3 separate regions of the Homo sapiens genome follow, and regions 1 and 2 are each linked to region 3. The links are contacts of gene promoters, found by promoter capture Hi-C in human tissues and cell types (Jung and others, 2019). All regions are on one chromosome and are shown on one strand. Each heading gives the region's core, a stretch centred on a gene start or on the middle of the fragment in contact. The rest is flanking DNA. Distances are from core to core; before and after follow the strand shown. Region 1 overlaps LOC124902998 (a long non-coding RNA gene). Region 2 has its middle 74 kb from the start of LINC00485. Region 3 holds the start of IGF1 (insulin like growth factor 1).

Region 1 (4,591 bases), core at 102-2,601, 270 kb after region 3:
TGATATTGATAGCTTGATAGGAATAGCATTGGACTTGTAGATCGCTTTGGACAGTATGACTATTTTAATGATATTGATTCTTCCAATCTGTGAGCGTAGAATAGTTTTCTATTTGTTTGTTTCCATCTGGGATTTCTTTCAGCAGTGTTTTGTAGTTCTCCTTGGGGAGATCTTTTACCTCTTTGGTTATTTGTATCCTAGGCGTGTGTGTGTGTCCATGTGTATTGTAAATGGAATTGCATTCTTGATTTAGCTTTCAGCTTGAATGTTATTGGTGTATAGAAATGCTACAAACTTCTGTATGTTAATTTTGTATCCTCATACTTTACTGAAGCGCTTATGAGTTTCAGGAGCCTTTTGGCAGAGTCTTTAGTTTCCTAAGTATCGAGTTATATCATCAGTGAAGATAGTTCGACTTTTTCTCCTATTCGCATGCCTTTTATTTCTTTCTCTTGCCTGATTGCTCTGGCAAGGACTTCCAGTACTATTTTGAACAGGAGTGGTGAGAGTGGGCATCCTTGTCTTATTCCAATCTCAAGGGGAATGATTCCAGTTATTGTCCATTCAGTATGATGTTGTCTGTAGGTTTGTCAGAGATGGCGCTTATTTTTTGAGGTATGTATCTTCAATGCCTAGTTTTTTGAGGGTTTTTATCATGAAGGGATGTTGGATTTTACTGAAAGCTTTTCCTGTGTCTACTGAGATGATCATATGGTTTTTCTTCTTAATTCTGCATATGTGGTGAATCATATTTATTGATTTTCATATGTTGAGCCAACCTGCATCTCAGAAATGAAACTTACTTGATCATGGTGAAGCAATTTTTTATGTGCTGCTGTATTTGGTTTGCTAGTATTACGTTGAGGAGGTTTGCATCTGTGTTCATCAGGCATATTGTCCTGTAGTTTTCTTTATTCATTTTGAATGTTACCCCTAAAAGAGTCTTGGCAGATGTGACTAAGAATCTTGAGATGAGGAGATAATCCTGGTGGGCCCTAAATGCCATCACATGAATCCTTATAAGAGAGAGGCAGAGGAATATTAGGAACAGACACAAAGAGGAGAAGGTCATTGAAGACAGAGCAGAGGATGCTACCACAAGGCAGTGAATGCCAACAGTCACCAGAAGCTGGAAGAGGCAAGGAAGGGCTCTCCCCTAGAGTCTCTGGAGGAAACACAGTCCTGTCCACGCATTGATTTTGGGCTTTTGTTGCCTTAAGCCATCAAGTTTGTGGTAATTTGTCACAGCAGACCTAGGTAATAAGTAAATACTCTATCATATTCTAGAACCTATCATAGTTTCTACCATCTGTTCTCTTAATGAAAAAATAATTCATACATTTATTACATGTTTATTGAAAGGCTACTATGTGCCAGACTCTGTTCTTGATACTCTGTTCTTGATACCATCTCCCTCACTGGCATTAGAGGAAATGGACAATAAGCATGTAAACAAGTAAGATAATTTTAGACAGAAGCACAGTGAAGAAAATAAAGGAGTGAAAGGAATAGGGAAAGAATGAGTGGGAAGGGGGCTCCTTTAGCTCATAGGGTCAAGGAAGCACTCTCAGAAACCATGATATTTGAGCTGAGCATCACAATAATGAGTGATAAATGCTCAGATAAATAACAGGAGAAAGATGCTCCTGACAAAGAGAATAGCAGGGAAAAAGTCTTGCGTCAGAAATGATCTTGGCATATCATAAAAACAGAAGGCCAATATCACTAGAGAGTGACGAAAGAGGGACAGAGTAGCAAGAAATAAATTTAGCAAGGAATGCATGGTCCAGGCCATGTAGGACATTTGTATCAATTATCTATTACTATAGTAATATGGTGTAACACATGCAAAACTTCAGAGGGTATACAACAATAAATGTTTATGTCTTATGCTTTTTGGGTCAGTTGGGCATCTGCTAGGCAGCTCTACTGACCTCAAGTGGACTTTCTCCAGTGTCTGGTGCTTGAATGGATGTGTGCTGATCGAGGATAGCCTCAGCTATGGCAGTTAGGGTAGCATGGCTCTCCTCCATGTGGCTCTCTCCAGCAGGCTAGCATGGGAATGTTTTCATGGTGGTGGCAGAGGCTCAAGAGGGAATTCCCAATGTGCAAGACCATTTCAAGCCTCTGCTTGCATGATATCTGATAATATCTCATTAGTTAAAGCAAATCACATGCCTGAAACCAGAGTCAAACAGTGGGCAGGTTACCCCACCCACAGTGGGAAGGCATGCCAAAGTTACATGGCATGAATATAGAGAACAATGAAAAAGTGAAACCATGAAGGCAAGCTTATGCAGATATTTAGGGCCTTGATAAATTAATAAATATAAGAAATAATTATATTTAAACAGGATGATAATGTATTACACATGTTGGAGTTCAGACAAGAGGATTTGGCTGTAGTACTCAGAGAAAGCTGCAAAAGGAAGGTCTTGAAGGATATTTTAGATATAGATAGGTGGAGGGACAAGATGAGGGTATTTTAAGAGCAGGGAATATCATAAACAAAGTTATGATGGCAAAAAAGGACTACAAATACATAGAATGAAAAGAATGGCATGTATATCATTATCAAGACACTTTCATCTGATCCAATCTCTATCACAAACAGAAGAAAATGAAGCAGAACAAATGAATCACATGTTCCTCCTACATAGTAAAACCACTACATTTCAAAATGTTTTCAGTCTAGAGTTCTCAATATAAGTAGAAATGTCTGAGGGTTAAAGACATCCATGAGTACAAACATAAATTCCTAACATGTGTTAGAATGAAGACTCAATACACTACTTACCATAATGGTGAAGAAACCTGAAATTATGAATCAATGTATACAAAATAACAAGCTTTGTTGGTAACCCAATGTTGAAAGCTATCATCAGATTGTTATTCTCGAAGCATACTATCAGATGACTCCAAAAGTACTCAGAATCAAAACAATATCCAAGAATCATCTTTACAAGGTAACTGAAAAATTTAGCCATGAACATCATTTCAAGCATGTTCACATAACTTTTTTTTTTTTTAATTGAGATGGAATCTTGCTCTGTCGCCCAGGCTAGAGTGCAGTGGTGCATTCTCAGCTCACTGCAACCTCCACTGTCCGCATTCAAGAGATTCTTGTGCCTCAGCCTCCCGAGTAGCTGGGACTACAGGCACATGCCACCACAGCCGGCTAATTTTGTTTTTTTTACTTTTAGTAGAGACGGGGTTTCACCATATTGGCCAGGTTGGTCTTTAACTCCTGACCTCAGATGATCCATCCTCTTCAGCCTCCCAAAGTGCTGGGATTACAGGTGTGAGCCACCACGCCTGGCCTTACATAACTCTTAATGTTACTTATATCTTGATTTGTGGCAAAAAGATGTTAAGGCAATTTTCAAGATATTAGTCTACAGCTCTAAAAATTGGTGATGTGTAATTCACTACAACTGGTTTCTTCATTTCACTTTTAAAATAATTCTGTTTGGATGACACTAAGAGCAACATACCATCCAGTAACGAGATCCAGGGAAGCAGCTAGTCCACTAGTACTCATAGACAGAGATGAATTCAAATGTGCATATAATTAACCAAAAAGAGGAAACTATATCCATAATTCAAATCCACATTGTTGCAAAATAAATATTTAAATCAATTCATCCATGTTTACCAGCTGTAACAGTGGAACAAAGCTTGAGGATATCCACGTTCCTACTCAACTGGTCTCACAGTTACTGGACTAATTACAGTGGAGCATCATAAACTCTCCCTGTGTCTCCCACCCCACTATCTCACAAACCAACTGCATTGAGCATGGTGAGAAGATACCTTACCCACTCCAATTCTTGGAGCAAAACAAGAGCTTAACCATCTTCACCACTCTCAGCTGGCCCCCATATCTCGCGTCTCTAAGTACTCTCTACAAGCCCACATGCTGGAAGCCTTGGATCTCTCTTCTGAGCCTTCAAATTAAAAACAAACAAACAAAAAAACTCAAGTTGACTCTTCTCAAAGAAAGAAAAAAAAACTGGAGGTCAACTTACCAACCAAATTCAAACTGTCTCAGAAGGATAACCTCCTAATTTTATTGCTGAATTCTGAGTGGCCTAAACGCCTACCAGGAGCTACCCTTCCCTGCCAACTACATCAACTCCACACACACACACACACACACACACACACACACACACACCTTCTAAGGGAGTGTCAGGACTAATTCCCTTGCTAGCCAAATTACCACACCTTGTTCTCTCTTACCCTTGCTCTCCATCCAGATATGAGCCCCTCTAGATATCTATCCTCCCACACTTTCATCTCTAAACAGCACTGTGTTTCTTCTCTCTTCTCTCTCCAATCTTTGTACTATACCTTCTGAATAACAAATACCCTTATAGCGTTCTCCACTTCACTGATCCCATTACCACCACACATACTTAAGAGTTGGGAAGGAGGATGAATGTCTATTTTATTCCATACTGTTTACAGCATGTAAATCCTTTTGTTACTTGAGTCCCACAAATTCAGCATAGCCACTTCTTATCATGCTACAATATCTTCCATCTTTAAATAGCAATAGCCAACTCTCTTCCATCTACAATCTAATTTT
Region 2 (4,324 bases), core at 266-2,765, 270 kb before region 3:
CCTTGTTTATGTGCCCCACCACCACCCAGCACTCTTCCCACCGTCTTTTGCCCTTTTAGAACTCTCTCATTCTGCAGGGCTGAGCTCCATCCCCTAACCAGGCCCCCTGCAACCTCCCGACCCCTACCAGCCAAGCCTTCTTTGATTACATCACCCCTCATTTATTGCCTGCTCTTTGCAATTTCTATAGCACTTTCAGTGTTTTTCAGACTTTTCTGAAGTACTTGTAAAATTACAAATTACTAGGCCCCATCCCGGGAGAGAGTCCTTGGAAGTGTTTTGGTTTACAAATACGCCAGGTGATTGTGATCATTGGGGATATCTGATGAATATCCAATGCCACAGAATTTAAGAGAAATAGATAAAAGTAGTCCCAAATTATGACCACCCCAGTTAAGAACTGGGTTCTTAATATGACTGGTTACTTACTCAGTTCCACCAAATATCCTCCTCCTGCCACTCTCACACCTTCCCTAGACCTAGCCCCAAGAACTGCAGAAGATGCAGATCCTAGAGACTTCACCTATGAACCAACCCATTGGAAAGTAAATAATGCAGCCTTGCTACTCAAAGTGTGGTCCCTGGACCGCAGCATCAGTACCACCTGGAAACTTGCTAAAAAGGCAGAACCTCGGGTCCATTCCAGATTTACTGAACCAGCATCTGAAGTTCATCAAGATCTCCAGGTGATTAATATCTATATTAACATTTGAGAAGCACTACTTTATTATGTGTTTGCAGAGAACTACTAGATGGTCTGGGGATCCCTGAGCAACATAGAAATGGCATGAGCTTTGGAATCAGACAGTCATTAGTTTGAATCTCAGTTGTGTGGCTGGCATGAGCTTCGGAATAAAATGGTCTTTAGTTTGAGTCCCAGCTGTGTGGCTGACAGGAAAGTTACTTAATTTCCATATCATCAAAAGTCATCGGCAAAATGGGGCTAATAATTTCTACCACATGGGGATGTCTTAAAAGTTAATGAGGTAACCTAAGTAAAGTACCTGCTTCACAATAGGTGCTCACTCACTGATGGCAATTTGCTTTACATAGTGCCTGGCACACGACAAGTGCTCAAAATGCTATTACAGCTGCTGGTCTCAGAGGAGGTGGTCTAGATATTATTGTTATTATTACTATTATTTTATTTTGAGACGGAGTCTTGCTATGTCACCCAGGCTGGAGTACAGCGGCATGATCTCAGCTCACTACAGCTCCCAGGTTCAAGTGACTCTCCTGCCTCAGCCTCCGGAGTAGCTGGGATTACAGGCACCGGCCACCACACCCAGCTAATTTTTTTTATTTTTATTTTTAGGAAAGACAGGGTTTTGCCATGTTGGCCAGGCTGGTCTTGAACTCCTGACCTCAAGCAATCCACCTGTCTCACCCTCCCAAAGTGCTGGGATTACAGGCATGAACCACTGCATGGCCGATAATATCATTATTATTAACCTGAAAGTGTTTACAATCTAGGAACAAAGTAAACACATAAAAAGTTGAAAAAAGATTATTATTACAAGAGACTCCATCCCCAAGTTGCAGGTCCTATAAGAATTAGGATTCTAAGAAAGTAAGCATTAAATATATTTCAGAGCAGAGCAACTAACATATCTAAGCCTTTAGTTTATGGTACGCATAGATTTAACTATCTTATTCCATACACCCAACTATAAATTAGACAGGTACTATTATGATTGCTCCCATTTTACCACTGAAACAATTGAACTTCACAAGGTTAAGTAACTTGTCCAAAGTCACTTGAATATTAAGTGGTGAAGCCAAGTCTCCAGAACACAGACCTTTTTTTTTTTTTTTTTTTTTTTTTTTTTTTTGTGGACAAGTTCTCACTCTGATGCCCAGGCTGGAGTGCAGTGGTGCCATCATGCTCACTGCAGCCTCAACTTCCTGGGCTCAGGTGATTCTCCTAACTCAGCCTTTGAGTAGCTGGGACTACAGGCACATGCCACCATGCTGGGCTAATTTTTGTATTTTTTTATAGAGGTGAGATCTCACTATGTTGCCCAGGCTGGTCTCAAACTCCTGGGCTTAAGTGATCCTCCTGCCTCAGCCTCCCAAAGTGCTGGGATCATAGGCATGAGCCACCGTGCCTGGCCAAAACACAAACTTGTAATGCTGAACAATTTTCTTCAAGTGATTCTTCAAAAGTGAGAGAAGCCACTATAGCTGGAGTGAGTTAGGAGACTTCTCTGAGGAGACTAGGATTCATCAGAGCAGTACAGACTGTATAGAATTTGACAGAGAGGTATTCAAGAGAGATACATTCTTATAACACTGGCAACATCTTGGATACAAGATTATGTCATAGTTCACAAAGTGCATTCACAAACTTTCATTCAGGGCTACGAAGATAGAATATAAATCATCCCTGTCTTGATGATCTTAACATCTATAGCTTTTAATTTATTCTTCAGCTACCAAAGGAGCTTGGTATTAGCTTCATTATGCAGATAAGAAAAAGAGAAGTTTAAGTGGCTCATGTATGATAATAGCAATAATAGGTGATGATCCTGGAAGCTGAACTCAGATCTCCAGAATCTAAGTCTAAGGTAATTTTATTATTTGCCCCTTTAGGAAAAGAGATAGATGCTAGGATAACCAACCGTCATGGTTTTTTCAGAATAGAAGATTTTCTCAGGATGCAGGACTTACAGGAAAGTCCTGGGTAAACCACGGCAAGCTGTCCACCCCAATGGAAGCTTAAGCCCCAAATGCATGCTTGAGAAACAACCCCTTTGGTTGAACCAAAGTGTTTATTGTGCTAAGGTAGAAATGCTGCTGTCACCAGTAAAAGATCCAGTACTCCACACTGTGTCCATTACCTACTCACTTCTTAGTTCTCAGCAATGCAGTGGCTACAGAACAGGCCTTCCTTCTTTGAGCACAGACTGCACTCCAAATTTTTATCTCTGTACTTACTTCTTCCCTCAGAACTTGCTGCTGCTATTGTGTGTGTGTGTGTGTGTGTGTGTGTGTGTGTGTGTGTGTATGTGTGTGTGTGTGTGTTGTGGTGTAGACCAGTGCTTCTCAACCTTTAATGTACATACAAATCATGTGGGGATCTTGTTAAAAAGCAGATTCTGATTCATTAGGGTTGAGTTAAAGTCCAAGACTCTGCATTTCCAATAAGCTCTCTGATGTGAAGGTTGCTGGCCATGGACTACACTTTGTAGAAGAAAGAACACCCGTTTTTGCAAAAGGAAACAGGAGCCCTTAGCCTTAAACAGCATTTAAATTGGTTGAATCCAAATAAATAGTTGATTTCCCTCTACCCTGAGACCTTCCCCTGGTGTCTGACAAGTACAAGCTTGCTCTCAAATAATCTGGATTAAAACCTACCACTGGCTAACTGGGTTACCTTAGGCAAATTATCTAATTTCTCTAAGATTCAGGTTCCCCACTGGTCAGGTCAGGTTGTTATTCTACTCACAGTCTTATTGTGAAGAATAAAGATAATGGCTACTGAGTATACACCACATTCCCAAATAAACACACATTATCTTTATTCTTCACGAAAAGACTGTGATCCGTTGATATGGTTTGGCTGTGTCCCCACCAAAATGTCACCTTGAATTGTAATAACTCCCATGTGTCAAGGATGGGGCCAGGTGGAGGTAATCGAATCATGGGGACAGTTTCCCTCATACTTTTCTTGTGGTAGTGAAAAAGTCTCATGAGACCTGATGCTTTTACAAATGGGAGTTCCCCTACACAAGTCCTCCTGCCTGCTGCCATGTAAGGCATGACTTTGCTACTCATTCACCTTCCACCATGATTGTGAGGCCTCCCAGCCATGTGGAACCATGAGTCAATTAAACATCTTTCCGTTGTAAATTACCCAGTCTCAGGTGTGTCTTTATTAACAGTGTGAGAACAGACTAACACATTCATGTTACTGTTAAAAGTTTCCCTTGCTGGAATGCTTATACACTGCTGGTGGGAAAGTAAATTAGGTCAGTCAATGTGGAAAGCAGTGTAGTGATTACTTGAAGAACTTAAAACAGAATTACCATTCTAACCAGAAATCCCATTATTGGGTGGATACCCAAAGGAATACAAATCATTCTAACATAAAAACACATGCATATGTATGTACATTGCAGCACTATTCAGTATAGTAAAGACATGTAATCAACCTAAATGCCCATCAACAGTAGACTGGATAAAGAAAATGTAGTATATACACACTGTGGAATACTCCGCGGCCATGAAAAATAATAAGATTGGCCTAGCGCAGTGGCTCACGCCTGTAATCCCAGCACTTTGGGAGGCCAAGGCAGGTAGATCATGAGGTCAGGAGTTCGAG
Region 3 (4,282 bases), core at 732-3,231:
AGAAAAAGATTTGTCACAAATCAAGTGTACAAAGAGAGCTTATTAAAGGAAGCCACGGATTATTATTAAATGCAGGGATTACTCACACATCTGCACATGTGGATAATCCCTGCATTAAGAATAATCCAGGGCCACCTACTAGGCCACCTCTTGATGATACCTCTTAGTGTGCTCTTTGGGTCAAATCCCACCCACTGAAATTTCCCAACATGGTACCCCAAAGCCTCTCATGACACAATCTGCCTCCCTCATTTTGGATTTTCCAAAAGATTTTACTCCCCTGTCTTCCCAGAGAATGTGTCACTCCCTCTCATTGTGCACTGTTCATGTTTTTAAAAGAGCACATGCCCATCATATGACTGTGAAGTTTTCCTCTTTGTCTCTGACATTCAGCTGAAAGCCCCTGAAGGGACTTGACCATATCTTATTCCTCTTTGTTTTCCTAGGGATGTTGTAGTTGGGCACATAGTAGAGCTCACAAAATGTTGCTGAACATAGTGCACCATTGACACAACATAATTCCAGATTTCTAACTTTGATTTCTGAAAGGTAAACATTGCTACAATGTATTAACCACACAGAAGACTCAAACAAACCCAACCCCCTTCCAAACAAAGCAGGTTTGTTTGTTTTTTGTTAGGGCACCCACTTCTACAAACAAATTTCTGGCCCCAGGATAACACAAAGAGCCAGAGTAGGATTTCAAGCAGAACTGTGTTTTCAGTTGATGTGTCAGTCCCCTGAGAGTCATGTGGAAAAAAAAAAAAAGAAAAAATTCAAGGTCCAGGTTATTTCCACCACTCCTGGGAAACCAGGCCTGGAGAGCTCTCTAGGGAAAGAGGTATGTCTGCTCTGGGCTTTTGCAACCTTATTTTATAATTCACTTTCTTATCTACTGCTTCACAAAACCAAAGGGAAATAGGTACAAACTGTATCGACAAAAGATCAGAACTGAATTCTCAATGGCAAAGGCAAGTGTACATTATAAATAGCAAAACAGCTGGCTTGGACCATGTTGCCGGCCAGTCACCCAGTTGAGGGATTTGAATGACATCATAACCCTCGAGAGGGTATTGCTAGCCAGCTGGTGTTATTTAGAATACACAAAAATCAGAGAAAGAAAACACACTCTGGCACACAGACTCCCTCTGTCATACACACACACACACACACACACACACACACACACACACACAGGTTTGAGTTATATGGAAAATTCAAACAACAGGAAAATTGTTTGCCCCCCAGGTACCCTTCTCCCAGAGTGGTGGGGTGGGGAGGGGACAGTGACAGGCAGCCTAGTAGAAGAATAAAGAAAAATGTTCTATTTCAGTTGGGTTTTACAGCTCGGCATAGTCTTTGCCTCATCGCAGGAGAAAAAGTATGAGACAGTGCCCTAAAGGGACCAATCCAATGCTGCCTGCCCCTCCATAGGTTCTAGGAAATGAGATCACACCTCTCACTTGGCAACTGGGACAAGGGGTCACCCGAGTGCTGTCTTCCAATCTACTTTACCCCAGTCACTTCAGGGTTAAAATTGTAGAGTTTGCTGGAGAGGGTCTTATCGTCCTTTCTTTCTTTTTTTGTTTTAAATAATGCATTTGCTCTAGAATCTAAAATTGCTCTCCCATCCCCCATATTCCTTTAATACTGGTAAGGTGTATTAGCAGACGTTTGTGTCTTCATGCCCAGCAGAAAGTTAATCAGAAAACAGATCCTTATTTTCTATGGCAGCATAAGTATTTTAATGTCTGCGAACCCTGTCACTAACACACATTCTTTTAAGGGAAAAAAATGCTTCTGTGCTCTAGTTTTAAAATGCAAAGGTATGATGTTATTTGTCACCATGCCCAAAAAAGTCCTTACTCAATAACTTTGCCAGAAGAGGGAGAGAGAGAGAAGGCAAATGTTCCCCCAGCTGTTTCCTGTCTACAGTGTCTGTGTTTTGTAGATAAATGTGAGGATTTTCTCTAAATCCCTCTTCTGTTTGCTAAATCTCACTGTCACTGCTAAATTCAGAGCAGATAGAGCCTGCGCAATGGAATAAAGTCCTCAAAATTGAAATGTGACATTGCTCTCAACATCTCCCATCTCTCTGGATTTCTTTTTGCTTCATTATTCCTGCTAACCAATTCATTTTCAGACTTTGTACTTCAGAAGCAATGGGAAAAATCAGCAGTCTTCCAACCCAATTATTTAAGTGCTGCTTTTGTGATTTCTTGAAGGTAAATATTTCTTACTCTTTGAAGTCATTGGGGAATTCTATTTAAATTGTGTACTGTTTGCTTCTGCCTAGAACTGTTCTTCACTTTAAAATTTTCATTGTTTCGGAACCGAGAGTTATTTATAAATTGCTGAATATGCAATTCTGTGGAATCTGAAAAATAGCTCGGGGAGATGGATGCATTTGCACAGATATCTGTATGAGTAGAAACTATTGCAAGGTACTTATGCTAAATCCTCCACTTCTGCAGGGCTTCCGTGGTGTCATTACAGAAGATTCCTTTAAATCCTCTCTATGGCTAAGGGCTATAGAGCATGGATATGAACTTGGGGATTTTTTTTTTCTTTTGCAGGTGCAGATGTTTTATTTTTAAGACCATGTTCTTTTGCATGTGTGTATGTGTCTCTGTGTGTATGTGTCTCTGTGTGTGTAACTCATCAGGACTTTATTTACAAGGCATGCTATATATGAAGGGTTGTATTTTAGATGATATTAAAGCTTTTAAATATGATCTTTGGAGCTAAGGTCCCGGAACTCTGCACTTATGCCCAGAGAGAGTGTTAAAGTTAGAGTAAAGTGTAATTTGTTCTTCCAAAAAAGAACTCCTTGACAACTCTTGCTGACCTTGCATATTTGTATAATTTAAACAAATACATACTGTATATGGAAAGCAGAAACTTTCTAAGAGCTGCTTGCCCAACTTTTCTGTTTAGAAGAGGACTTTCATGGGCAAAGTTTGGACTTGGGGTTCTGTGTTATAAAACTCTGATTTTATATTCAGTGTCGTGAAGTCCCTTTAGGTAAATCTGGCTGCTGCTGTCAGTGCACCGACTTCTCGTTTCCGATTGCTGGCCGTAGTTCTAGTTTCCATTCTCAGCAAAATTATATCCTTCAAGACTTGTGTTTTTTTTTCAATTTGCAAGCGCTTTTAAGCTGCTGTCACTGGCTCCACCGATTCAATTGCCTGAGGGCTCAATTCATAAGACGTCTCTGCCACTTAGTGCAGCATTCAGTTGCTGCTTTCAAACACTTCACCACTACGACTTTCCCTAGTCAAGTAAGTGGCTCCAGGAGTTAAAGATACACCCTTGTCAGGCACCTGATTCTGCTGTTCCTGAGATGCCAACACATGCAGGCCACCTTGCTTTCAAAGAAATGACGTCACTGTGCATACATACTATGTGATCTAGCAGCTGGAGTTTTTGTCTCCTTACTTAGGGGATCATAAAAGAGGCTGTGGAGCGTTATCTCTGCATTAATTACAAGTTAAGAAAATTGTTTCCAAATGCACTTTTCATGCTGTGTATGCTGAACACTTCAGAAGTGGAGCTCTTAATAAGTTGTTACTTTTTTCTGTACTTGAAGCAGGAAGTGGTTTGAGGGAGCTGCGTGGTCTTTCACATGTAATTCAGTGGGTAAAGGTGTCCTGCCCAGAGGCAGAGCTCACCAGCTGATTGTACTCTGACTCTCAAGGTATTTCCAAGTGAGTGAGTCGGGGGAAGGGAGTAAGGGAGTGGACTGGAGCTTGGGTCACTATCTGGGCTGCTACAATAGGCATACAATGGAAATAGGTGGCTTGACTGGGGGGAAAAGATTGACTTAAATCCCAGCTGTGCAATTTGTTCATTGTTTCAATGGACAAAAGGCAGTTTACCCAGGCTCATAATAGCATACCTGCCTGGGTGTCCAAATGTAACTAGATGCTTTCACAAACCCCACCCACAAAGCAGCACATGTTTTTAAGACTTCAGTTTTCTATTCACATCGGCCTCATAATACCCACCCTGACCTGCTGTAAAAGACCTGGAACAAACAAAAATGATTACACCTACAGTGAGTATTTTCTTATGACTGTTGCCCTCAAATTTTACAGGGCATTTTCATTGTGGCCCAGACATCTGGAATCAATTAATATTCCATTTATCTAAGATTAAAAAAAAAAGAACTTTTAAAATTTGGGTTTGTGAATGATTTTTGAGAAAGTGTTTTCTGATTTTTTTTTCTTTTTTTCTCATGTCTTTCTGATTCTTCCCTTTTTTTTCTATCATATCTTTCCTT

Evidence for each region. The method cuts DNA at HindIII sites, captures the fragments that hold promoters and counts their contacts. A contact is called where the count stands out against the background at its distance.
Region 1: a contact is called between a fragment that was not itself captured here and the fragment with the promoter of IGF1 in region 3, in 1 of the 25 tissues and cell types used here (adrenal gland).
Region 2: a fragment that was not itself captured here is called in contact with the fragment with the promoter of IGF1 in region 3 in 1 of the 25 tissues and cell types used here (H1 embryonic stem cells).

The regions. Positions count from the first base shown.
Region 1 is chr12:102,204,380-102,208,970 of GRCh38, reverse strand. It overlaps LOC124902998 (a long non-coding RNA gene), which reads right to left. Exons shown (of 2, transcript XR_007063426.1): 2 at 1-3,947. Among named protein-coding and RNA genes, the nearest start is that of PMCH, 8.8 kb to the right of the region's middle. The HindIII fragment of the contact is 3,824 bases long and covers 1-3,263 here.
Region 2 is chr12:102,748,324-102,752,647 of GRCh38, reverse strand. No RefSeq gene overlaps it. Among named protein-coding and RNA genes, the nearest start is that of LINC00485, 74 kb to the left of the region's middle. The HindIII fragment of the contact is 3,013 bases long and covers 9-3,021 here.
Region 3 is chr12:102,478,262-102,482,543 of GRCh38, reverse strand. It overlaps IGF1 (insulin like growth factor 1), which reads left to right and starts at 1,981. Exons shown (of 4, transcript NM_000618.5): 1 at 1,981-2,225. The coding sequence starts at 2,163. LINC02456 (long intergenic non-protein coding RNA 2456) reads right to left here. Exons shown (of 13, transcript XR_007063427.1): 11 at 1-4,282. RefSeq lists enhancers at 3,126-3,175, 3,266-3,525. The HindIII fragment of the contact is 12,796 bases long and covers 1-4,282 here.